2 separate regions of the Homo sapiens genome follow, and region 1 is linked to region 2. The links are contacts of gene promoters, found by promoter capture Hi-C in human tissues and cell types (Jung and others, 2019). All regions are on one chromosome and are shown on one strand. Each heading gives the region's core, a stretch centred on a gene start or on the middle of the fragment in contact. The rest is flanking DNA. Distances are from core to core; before and after follow the strand shown. Region 1 overlaps DOCK11 (dedicator of cytokinesis 11). Region 2 holds the start of ZCCHC12 (zinc finger CCHC-type containing 12).

Evidence for each region. Contacts are between HindIII fragments. The study calls those that stand out against the background at their distance.
Region 1: a contact is called between a fragment that was not itself captured here and the fragment with the promoter of ZCCHC12 in region 2, in 4 of the 25 tissues and cell types used here (adrenal gland, dorsolateral prefrontal cortex, mesendoderm cells and 1 more).

The regions. Positions count from the first base shown.
Region 1 is chrX:118,685,744-118,691,006 of GRCh38, reverse strand. DOCK11 (dedicator of cytokinesis 11) reads right to left here. Exons shown (of 53, transcript NM_144658.4): 53 at 4,860-5,263. The coding sequence ends at 5,200. Among named protein-coding and RNA genes, the nearest start is that of IL13RA1, 39 kb to the left of the region's middle. The HindIII fragment of the contact is 5,152 bases long and covers 1-4,460 here.
Region 2 is chrX:118,820,385-118,825,073 of GRCh38, reverse strand. It overlaps ZCCHC12 (zinc finger CCHC-type containing 12), which reads right to left and starts at 1,250. Exons shown (of 4, transcript NM_173798.4): 1 at 1,069-1,250; 2 at 684-735; 3 at 361-485. The HindIII fragment of the contact is 10,215 bases long and covers 1-3,829 here.

The DNA of each region.
Region 1 (5,263 bases), core at 635-3,134, 130 kb after region 2:
CATATGAACCAGTCATTCCACTTCTGTGTACATGCCCAAGAGAACTAAAAACATGTCCACACAAAAACTTGTGAGTGTTCACAGCAACATTATTCACAGTAGCCAAAAAGTGGAAATAACCCAAATGTCCATCAACTGATGAGAAGATAAAATATGGTGTATCTATATAATGGATTATTATTTAGCCATAAAAAGGAATGAAGTACTGATACATTCTACAACATCGATGAACTTTGGAAATATGCTATGTCAAAGAAGCTGGACACAAAAGGCCACATATTGTATGACTGCATTTATATGAAATGTCCAGAACAGGTAAACCTTGTAGGGACAAAAAGTAGATTAGTGGTTGCCAGGGGCTGGAGGATGATGACCGGTAGGAGTGACTGCTAATGAGTATGGGGTCTCTTTCAGGTGATAAACATGTTTTAAATTGTAGTGATACTTGCACAACTCTGTGGATGTAATTTTAAAAAACACTGAATTGTGTACTTTAAATGGGTAAATTGTATGGTATGTGAATTATATCTCAATAAAAAGGAAAAACAAAGCAAAAAAAAAGAACATTGGAAAAGTTTTAAAATGCTATGCACAGAGGCAAAATCTTAGAACTTAGCCACGACTCCCATTAGGAGATGAACAAACATAGATACACTGTTTTTAGACAGTGACCATTAAGTGCTTAGAAAAAAAAAAAAAAGATAAATAAAGCACTCTTACTCACCAACTCCCAAGACAGGGGTATAGCCTTGTTACACAAACCCACTCCCCACCCACAACCAACTTTTACTCCTTTCCTCTCCTTGTCTTTTGATAGCTGAACTAGTGTACTGTTAGAACAAGACTGAGACTAAAGGTAGCCCAACATTTTGGAGATCAGAAGCCCAAGACATATGTCTAATTATCAATGTTTTGAAGAGTTTGGAAATTCCTATTAATCCATTATATCACTCAGGTTCTTCATCTCAGAGAAAGCTAATATCTCATGGAACAAACCTGCACATGTACCCCCTGAACCTAAAAGTTAGAAGAAAAAAAGATACGAAATAGTTTTTTAAAAATGTGCGTTCTTATTATCATGACTTATCTAGTTTCTTAATTAGAGTCATCTCTAGTTCTAGGATGATGTGTTGTTGGTCAAGGTTCCAAGGACATTACTACCACTGCTGCTTTCTGTTTCACTTTTGAAAATATATAATATTTTGATAGGCAGCCAAATCATATAAATACGGTAACAATAACAATCCCATCTATATACATGATGCCAGTGGTGACAACTGGTTACTAGGAAAATTTCCATGGAATTTCTTATTTTCTCTATGGTTTTTCACCGTAGTGATAAACTAACACTACCAAGGGTGACTTAATCACATTTCACAGTATGTCCAAAGACTATCAAAACAACAACTTCTAGGGGAAATTGGACTCAAGCTTAACTGCAAAACAATCAGTATAGGAGAAATGTATTCTTTGGTGTTAATTAATTTGTAGAGGACAAATCACTTCAAGAAATCATTAAACTATATACACTTTAATGCCTAATACATGTAGTGTTTAAAAAACAGATTTACCTAGCTTTCTCTGTTCGAGCCCACCTTGTTCTCTACAGCTTGCTACCTTTAGTCTGAGAGTTGGAAAAATAAATCTAGTGAGCTTGTGCCATGACATGGCAAACTCCCTGGCCACAGGACACAAAATTATCTTTCACATTTCTTTTTTTTTTTCCCTTGGCCATCCAATGAGTCTTACCTAGTCCTTCCATATATGTCTCTGGGACTCGTCCTTTCTTCTCCATTCTTGTCATATCACTCACATCTAGAGGTTTATTGAATTTAGTTTATTGCAATATCTATGTAACTGGTTTCCTAATTTCCATGTCTCTCTACCTCAAATACATCTGGCAGCAATATAAAAGATTAAATTTCTAAAAATAACATTTAATTAAGTAATCTGTTTAAAAACCTTGGCTAGCTCTCTCATGCCTATTGAGTAAACTCCAAATACCATTAGCCTGGTATTCAGCGCCTTCCAAAATCTCAGTCCGAATGTATTTTATTTCTTTTTTCTTTCTTTTTGTTGTTGTTGTTGTTGTTGTTGTTGACAGAATCTCACTCTGCCACCCAGGCTGGAGTGCAATGGCATGATCTAGGCTCACTACAACCTCCACCTCCCGGGTTCAAGCGATTCTTGTGCCTCAGCCTCCCAAGTAGCTGGGATTACAGGTGTGTACCACCATGCCTGGCTAACTTTTTTTTGTATTTTTATTAGAGACAGTGTTTTACCATGTTGGCCAAGCTGGTCTTGAACTCCTGGGCTCAAGTGATCTGCCTGTCTCAGCCTCCCAAAGTGCTGGGATTACAGGCATGAGCCACCACGCCCAGCCTGTATTTTCTAGATTTATCATCTACCACCTCTTGGACAAAACTGGTCTCCTTACTATCCCCTGAACCTCCACAAATTCTTTTTGCACCTTTGCTTATGGTGTTCCTCCTGCCTAGAATACCCCTCTCCATTTTTGGAAGCCTGTTCAAAGCTTAACTTTTCTTCACTAAACCCTCCCTGAACATTTACAATTCACAGTGATCTCTTTCTTTGAATGTGATTTGAGTTATGAATGCTGTCGTTCATTTGGCAATACTCACATATGACTTCTCCTGTCTTACATTGTTAATTCTTGTACTATTTAATTTTGTGCGTCTTGCTTTCTCAACTAGACTGCGAGATCCTTGGCAATAGGGGCCATTTATTACATTAAAAAATCTACCCACAGTGCATATTGCTGTGCTAGGGGCTTTGACAGGGACTAGTTACAGACAGAAGAGTGCTGGAGTCTCCTCAAGATGCCAAACTCTCAGAATGCAGCATTTACTAGAGGTGATGATTCCTCACACATACATATCAAATATAATCACTTTAAAGGTGAAACTAACTCTACAGGTTACTCTAAGATATTAAGGAATTACAAACTGCCTTGGAAATACTTGTAAAAGTCCCCTATTAAAATACAAAATTAACTTTTAATAAATAAGTTCATGCTCTCCTGAAAGCTTAAAAATGACATATAAAGAAAAAATGGGCTGGACGCGGTGGCTCACGCCTGTAATCCCAGTACTTTGGGAGGCTGAGGCGGGTGGATCACAAGGTCAGGAGTTCGAGACCAGCCTGAGCAGCATGGTGAAACCCCGTCTCTACTAAAAATACAAAAATTAGCTGGGCGTGGTGGCACCTGCCTGTAATCCCAGCTACTCAGGAGGTTGAGGCAGGAGAATCATTTGAACCCGGGAGATGGAGGTTGCAGTGAGCCAAGATGGCGCCACTGCACTCCAGCCTGGGTGACAGAGCAAGACTTTGTCTCAAAAAAGAAAAAATGGTACCCCCCAAAAAATAAAAATAAAAATGGTCAGGCCAGGAGCATAATCTCTAGGATTTACTTGATCACAAAGTGCTCAAAAAGCCAAGGCCCCGTGCAATCCATTTATATTTTAGTGACTGTTTTTTCATCTGTAAAAGAGGCTAAACCACATAAGGAAAATAAGTGTAGGCTGGGCAAAGTGGCTCATGCCTGTAATCCCAGCACTTTTGGCAGATCACGATGTCAGGAGATCGAGACCATCCTGGCTAACACAGTGAAACCCCGTCTCTACTAAAAAAAAAATACAAAAAATTAGCCGGGCGTGGTGGCAGGCGCCTGTAGTCTCAACTACTCGGGAGGCTGAGGCAGGAGAATGGCGTGAACCAGGGAGGCAGAGGTTGCAGTGAGCCAAGATCGCGCCATTGTACGCCAGCCTGGGCGACAGAACGAGACTCCATCTCAAAAAAAAAAAAAAAAGGAAGTCTAGAACCCGAGTTCCCATAGAAGGCAGCCAAAATGATTTGGATAATTCAAGCTAAAAAATGTCATTCACATCTTGGTTTCTCCTGAATTATTTAGGCAATCTGAGATTTCTTCATAGACAGAAATATAATCCCAAGCTAGTTTGCCAAATCTGTGGTGGTTTTCTACATTGACCCAAGACATGCTGCAACCATTAAGTTCTAATCAAAATGTTTATTAATCTTGTAACTGAAGAAAATAATCATTACAAAACTCCTACCTCAGATTGCTGTAAAAGCTTTGAAGTTCTGTGGGATGTACTGACTGCAATCTCAGAAATGTTTTATCTTTGTAGATGGCCCCAGATGATAAAGCTTTGGCAACAAATGCTGCTTGCCCTGTATAAATCCCTTAGATGTCTTGTATGTAGAAGGGAGACCTACTAGATTACCTAGCGTCATCAGATCATAACATATATATATGGTATCTCAAGCTTACTATTATATATATGTTATATATACAGAGTCTCACTGTCGCCCAGACTGGAGTGCAGTGGCGTGATCTCAGCTCACTGCAACCTCCACCTCCTGGGTTCAAGCGATTCTCCTGCCTCAACCTCCTCAGTAGCTGGGATTACAGGCATGCACCACCATGACCAGCTAATTTTTGTATTTTTAGTAGAGATGGGGTTTCACCATGTTGGTCAGGCTGGTCTTGAACTCCTGACCTCATGATCCGCCTGCCTCAGCCTCCCAAAGTGTTGGGATTACAGGCATGAGCCACCGTGTCCAGCCTAAGCTTCGTATATTTGTAAATATATCCTTTCCTTTTGAAATTTTCTGTGAAATAATGCTTTTGGTTCCTTTAGCCCAGCCTTGACTACTAATTGGCAAGGATTCAAATGATCTCCCCAATTTTAAATATCCGTGTATTACGGAAATGTTATCAATTTTCTTCTCCTCCTACCAAGGATTAGTATGATAATGAATTGAGCTTCTTGTCAAGAAAAATGCTAAGTTCAAAGTATTATTTCTTTCACTTCTAATTACAAATAAGTTTTACCTTTTATTGTATTCCATTATACAATTTTACATAGTACCATTATTTTAAGCAATAATTAAGCAAATTGAACTACTGTTTTTGAGCTCTACTTTTCAGCATATAGATTTACCTAAAAAAGTACAAACCAAGCACAGTGGTGCAATTTTCCAGGCACTTTCAAGTTGCTTATTTACAAATATGTAAGCACCCTGTTGGAACACATGAAAATTTTGGTGTCGAGAAGAAACACTCCATGTATATCAAATCTTTAAATTTTAACATTTGCACAGCTCCAAATATTCCTGAGAAAGGTCAGTCTCATTGTCACGTACATCTGCATTTCCTCACACTTCAGCGTATCTTGGGGAACCATAACCTCGGTCACTTGATGTACCACTAATTGCACAA
Region 2 (4,689 bases), core at 1-2,500:
TCCTACCTGAATATCCTGCAGTACATTTTATATTTGCCCACTACCCTAAAAATAATCCTGTAGGAGATTGACACTTACAACCTCCCAGAGCTACCCGATGCCTGCGTGCTAGCAAGGTGCTTTTTGCAGCCACATCCATCCCTCCCACCAGTCCTCCAAGAGGGACGGTAACTGTTGCTTCAAATTCTAGGTGTAGCAGTGTCTGGAGCTGATATTGGGCTCTCCAAATAGAGTACAATGATCGCAGATTTGTGGAAATAAAATAAGATCTCATTAACCTCATGGTCTCTGGTCTCAACCACACCCCCTTCTCAAAGTGCCCCCCACGCCCGTCCCCCTTGTTATTTCTCAGATTCTTACACGAACTCTGAAACAAGAGCGCGTCTTTATTTCACTTCCAGCCTCTGCAACCAGTGCCCTCCGTGAGAAAGCTCCTCTCCGGGGTACGGTCAACCTCTGTCCACAGGGGGTCGCAGATCCGGGTCCTTGAGGTTTCAAGATTGCGCCACAGCGGAGAAGGCCAGAGAAGGGAAGGGTTAGAAGCAGCTTCACCCGTCATCCTGCTACCCACCACCTCCGCTGTTGCCAGGCGAAAAATTCTCTCTGCCCCCTCCTGACTATAAGCCAGAGACCAGCCCCCCACCCTCCAGCATTACATTTCCCCCGGGAAGCCGTCGGCCTACCAGCTCTGCAATCAGCTGCACAGAATTCAAGTTCAGATGCGGCTTTGATGGCCTGCCACGGAGAAAGGGAATAGGAGTTGGACACACCCACCCACATATTCCTCCCAGAAAGAGATGAGGAGATGCAAAGGATGTTCGAAGCAAACAGCTCGAGATTCCTCCCCCCGCTACTCCTCGCCTCTCCTCCCACCCCCAAATCCAGGCAAATCCTACCTAGCCCGCAGTATCCAGGTGAACCCCACCTCCTCCCTCAGCGCAGCCGGGCCACGAGAGTACTCCTACCCCTGCCTCACAGTCACCGATTCTCCAAGCTGGGAGCCGCCCAGTACTGGTGGGTCTTCCCCCACCCCTCTCCCCGCCGGGCAATCACACCCCCATTCTTTACCTGTGCTCCGCTGGTGGACAGCAGATGCTCCCGCGTCGCCAGCTGTGGATTCCGCCTTCTGGTCTCCGCCTTGCAGGCGGCAAAGAACTGAAGCCTCCTTGGCCGCTAAGCGACCCGGGGCTGCCCGAAGGAGCTGCTTCGCAGGGCCGCCCAACCAGGGGTAGCAGAGACGAGGCAGCGCCGTTCCTAAGGCAGCCGCGGCGGCTTTTATCCTCTGCCAGCTGAGACAAAAGAGCGTGACGAGCGGGCTAGTGCGGCCAATCAGCGAAGTGCGGGGGCGGACGCCCCGCACAGCCTTGGGCAGAGGCGAGTTTTCGCCTGAGGGGGCGGGGGCGCAGCAGGCCCGCGGAGCGTCAAGTGCAGCTTGATTAGACCGATGGAGCCAATCTGCCTGGGAATTTGCGACTCTTTCTTCCTCCCCCAACCCGTCCCTTCTCCCTGGGCTCAACTCTGCATCTTAGGCCAGGTGCATTAAACACGAAGTGGGTCCAAAATCAAGTGAATAATAAAAGTTCTTCACCTTGGTATAGGGAAAAGACGGGGAAGAGGGGAAGGGGCGGGAAGAGCATTAGCACGTGCATTGCGGAAACAGGCTTTCACACACATCTCCTCTTTTACTGTGAAAGAAGTAGCAGTATGTCCATTTAACAGAGAGGAGAGCTGGAGAACAAGGCTCTCAACCAATACCCATTCAAGTATGGGGGCAAGACATCAGAGTCATTTGGGGGAGCTTGTTAGAAATGCAGTCTTCTGGCCGGGAATGGTGGCTCACGCCTGAAATCCCAGCACTTTGGGAGGCCGAGGCGGGCGGCTCACGAGGTCAAGAGATCGAGACCATCCTGGCCAACATGTTGAAACCCCGTCTCTACTAAAAAGACAAAAAAAAAAAAAAAAATCAGCTGGGCATGATGGCGCGTGCCTGTAATCCCAGCTACTTGGGAGGCTGAGGCTAGAGAATCTCTCCAACCTGGGAGGCGGAGGTTGCAGTGAACCAAGATCGCACCGCTGCACTTCAGCCTGGCAAGGGAACAAGACTCCCTCTCAAAAAAAAAAAAAAAAAAAAAAAAAAAAAAAAAAAAAGGAAAAGAAAAGAAATGTAGGCTCTGGGCCCCAACTCTGGTGGATTCAGATTTACTAGGACTAGCGGTTGTGATGTGGTTTTGTATTTAGTATTTTTAACCGGCGCTGCGGTTGGTTCTGAGTTGTAGCAAGGTTTGTGAATAAGTAAATGAGCCTGTCTCCAATATCTGTCCACAGGTATCTGTGGTGAAATGCAACTCCAGAGCAGATGTGCCTACCTGGAATCCATGATCTTCCTGAAATTGTATGCAAAGATTTCGGACTCTGTATGAAGCTAAATAATGGCCACCCAAATGTATCAAGTCCTAATCCCTGAAACCTGTAAATGTTACCTTATAAAGTAAAATGGTCTTTGCAGGTGTGATTAAGTTAAGGCTTTTTGACTTAATTTTCCAGGCAGGCTGAAATCTAAACCACAAGTGCCCTTATAAAAGAGGGAGAGTTGGTGCACCAAGAAGAGAAGGCAATGACCAGAGATTAGTGATGTGGCCATAAGCAGAGGAATGCTAGCAGCCACCAGAAACTGGAAGAGGCAAGGAATAAAGCACAGTCCTACTGACACCTTGAATTCAGCCCAGAGAAACAGATGTTAAGCTTCTGGCTTCTAGAACTGTGAGAAATTAAACTTCTCTTGTTTTAAGCCAAGTTTGTGATAATTTGTTACAGTGCTGTTTTAGTCTGTTTGGGGTGCTATGGCAAAATACCATAGACTGGGTGGTTTATAAACAACAGAAATGTATTGCTCATAGTTCTGAAGGTTGGGAAGTCCAACTTCAAGGTGCCAGCAAGGTTGGTTTCTCCTGAGGCTTCTCTCCTTGGCTTGCACATGGCTGCCCTCTTGCTTGGCCATCCTCTCTGTGCATATGTGCCTCTGGGTTCTCTCAGTGTGTCCAAATTTCCTCTTCTTATAAGGACACAAGTCAGATTGGGGCCCACCCTAAGGGCCTCATTTTTACCTTAATAACCTCTTTAAAGGCCCTATCTTTAAATACAGTCACACTCTAAGGTACTGAGGGTTAGGATTACAATGAATTTGGGGGAACATAATTCAGCCTGCAGCACTCCATTTTCCCTTACTTCTGGTTCTGGGAAAGCAAGCCTTCCTTCTCTCATGTAAAGTGTGGTTAAGAGACTCCTGTGGGAACTTTGGGGGGTCAAGACCAAGTGCACTTGGACTGCCCAAGTGCAAAGGAGTTGCTTGTTCTTGACTCCTGATGTTTGGAAGTGAGTGAACAGTCTGATGCTTTTCAGCTGCTGTTAATTTCAGCTTCAGCCTGCCAAGGTACTTTACCTGCTTCTTTCTGCCTTCTTATTTCCAACTCCAATACCTAGAATTCCTTGGAGTAAACAATCTACATTTAAAGACAAAGCACCTTCATCTCAGGGGCATGACCTTTCTCTTGTGGATGGAACACTGGAATGGTGGTGGTGGTGGGTGGAGGATTTTGGAGGTGCAGAGAAGGCAGGTTGCTTACTTCACACAGTCGGGGGTGATGCTGGCAATAGCTTAGGGGTTTTCTTCAGACTCTTGCTTCTGCTCCCCAATACTATGACATCTGACCCTGGCCTCTAAGCAGAATCGTGTTCTACATTTAAATTGGCTTCATCGCCAAATCAGGTGTTCTGCAGTTGGACCTGGTGGCATCAGAAAGGACAAAGACTGTGTCTCAGAGCTGTGCAAAAAATTTTGATTGTGTAAAGTTGCCTGGGTTGCATCATCAGAACCAAGCGGAGGTCTCTTCATATAGGGCTTGGAGGAGCATTTGCTAAACTGGCTCCAGTTGGATACAGAGCATACCTTATCTCTGGCCTCATATTATAGGAGAGGGGTTGGGGGTAAGGGGGCTTCCAATTACAAGAATTCTAGCTCTGGTGGTTCTAAGGAGGCCACATTTCATTTTCCAATTGCAAAACAAAACAAAACAAAAACACACACACAAAAAACCCTTAAAATCCTTAAGATTCAGAGCCAATGCCTTCAGTTGAAAGAATAACTCCCTTTAGTTGCCTTCAACCTCTGTGCCAGGAATTTTCCATCCTTATCTCATGTAAGTGTCTCATCAAACCTATTCAGATAGGCATTGTTATTTCACCAAGGTTTCTGAGAGCATATGGTCACTTCAAACTCGGGCTTCGGCTCAGGGATATCAAAGACTGGATGGGGGTGCTTATGGGAGATGCTGCACATATTAACCTGGCATTCTAAGGGCAGCATCACTCAAAAAAGTTTTCAAAAAGAGGATAAAATAGTTATTTTTAGACAAACAAAACAGAGAGTTTGTAACCAGCAAACCAAGCTAATGGAAATTCTGAAGTATGTACTTCAGGAGGAACATGACCTTAAAAGAAATAAATACAGGAAGGAATGAAGAGCAAAGGAAGTGGTAGTACGTGGGCAATGTAAGAGAACATTGGCAGAAGAAGAAATCAGAAAAACATCTATTCTTCTTTTTAAAAAATAAACTTAATGTATCATACAATCAGAAAAAACGTCAGGAGGGGCTTAAATGGATTTCAACTTTTCTAAGGGCCTGGTATCGT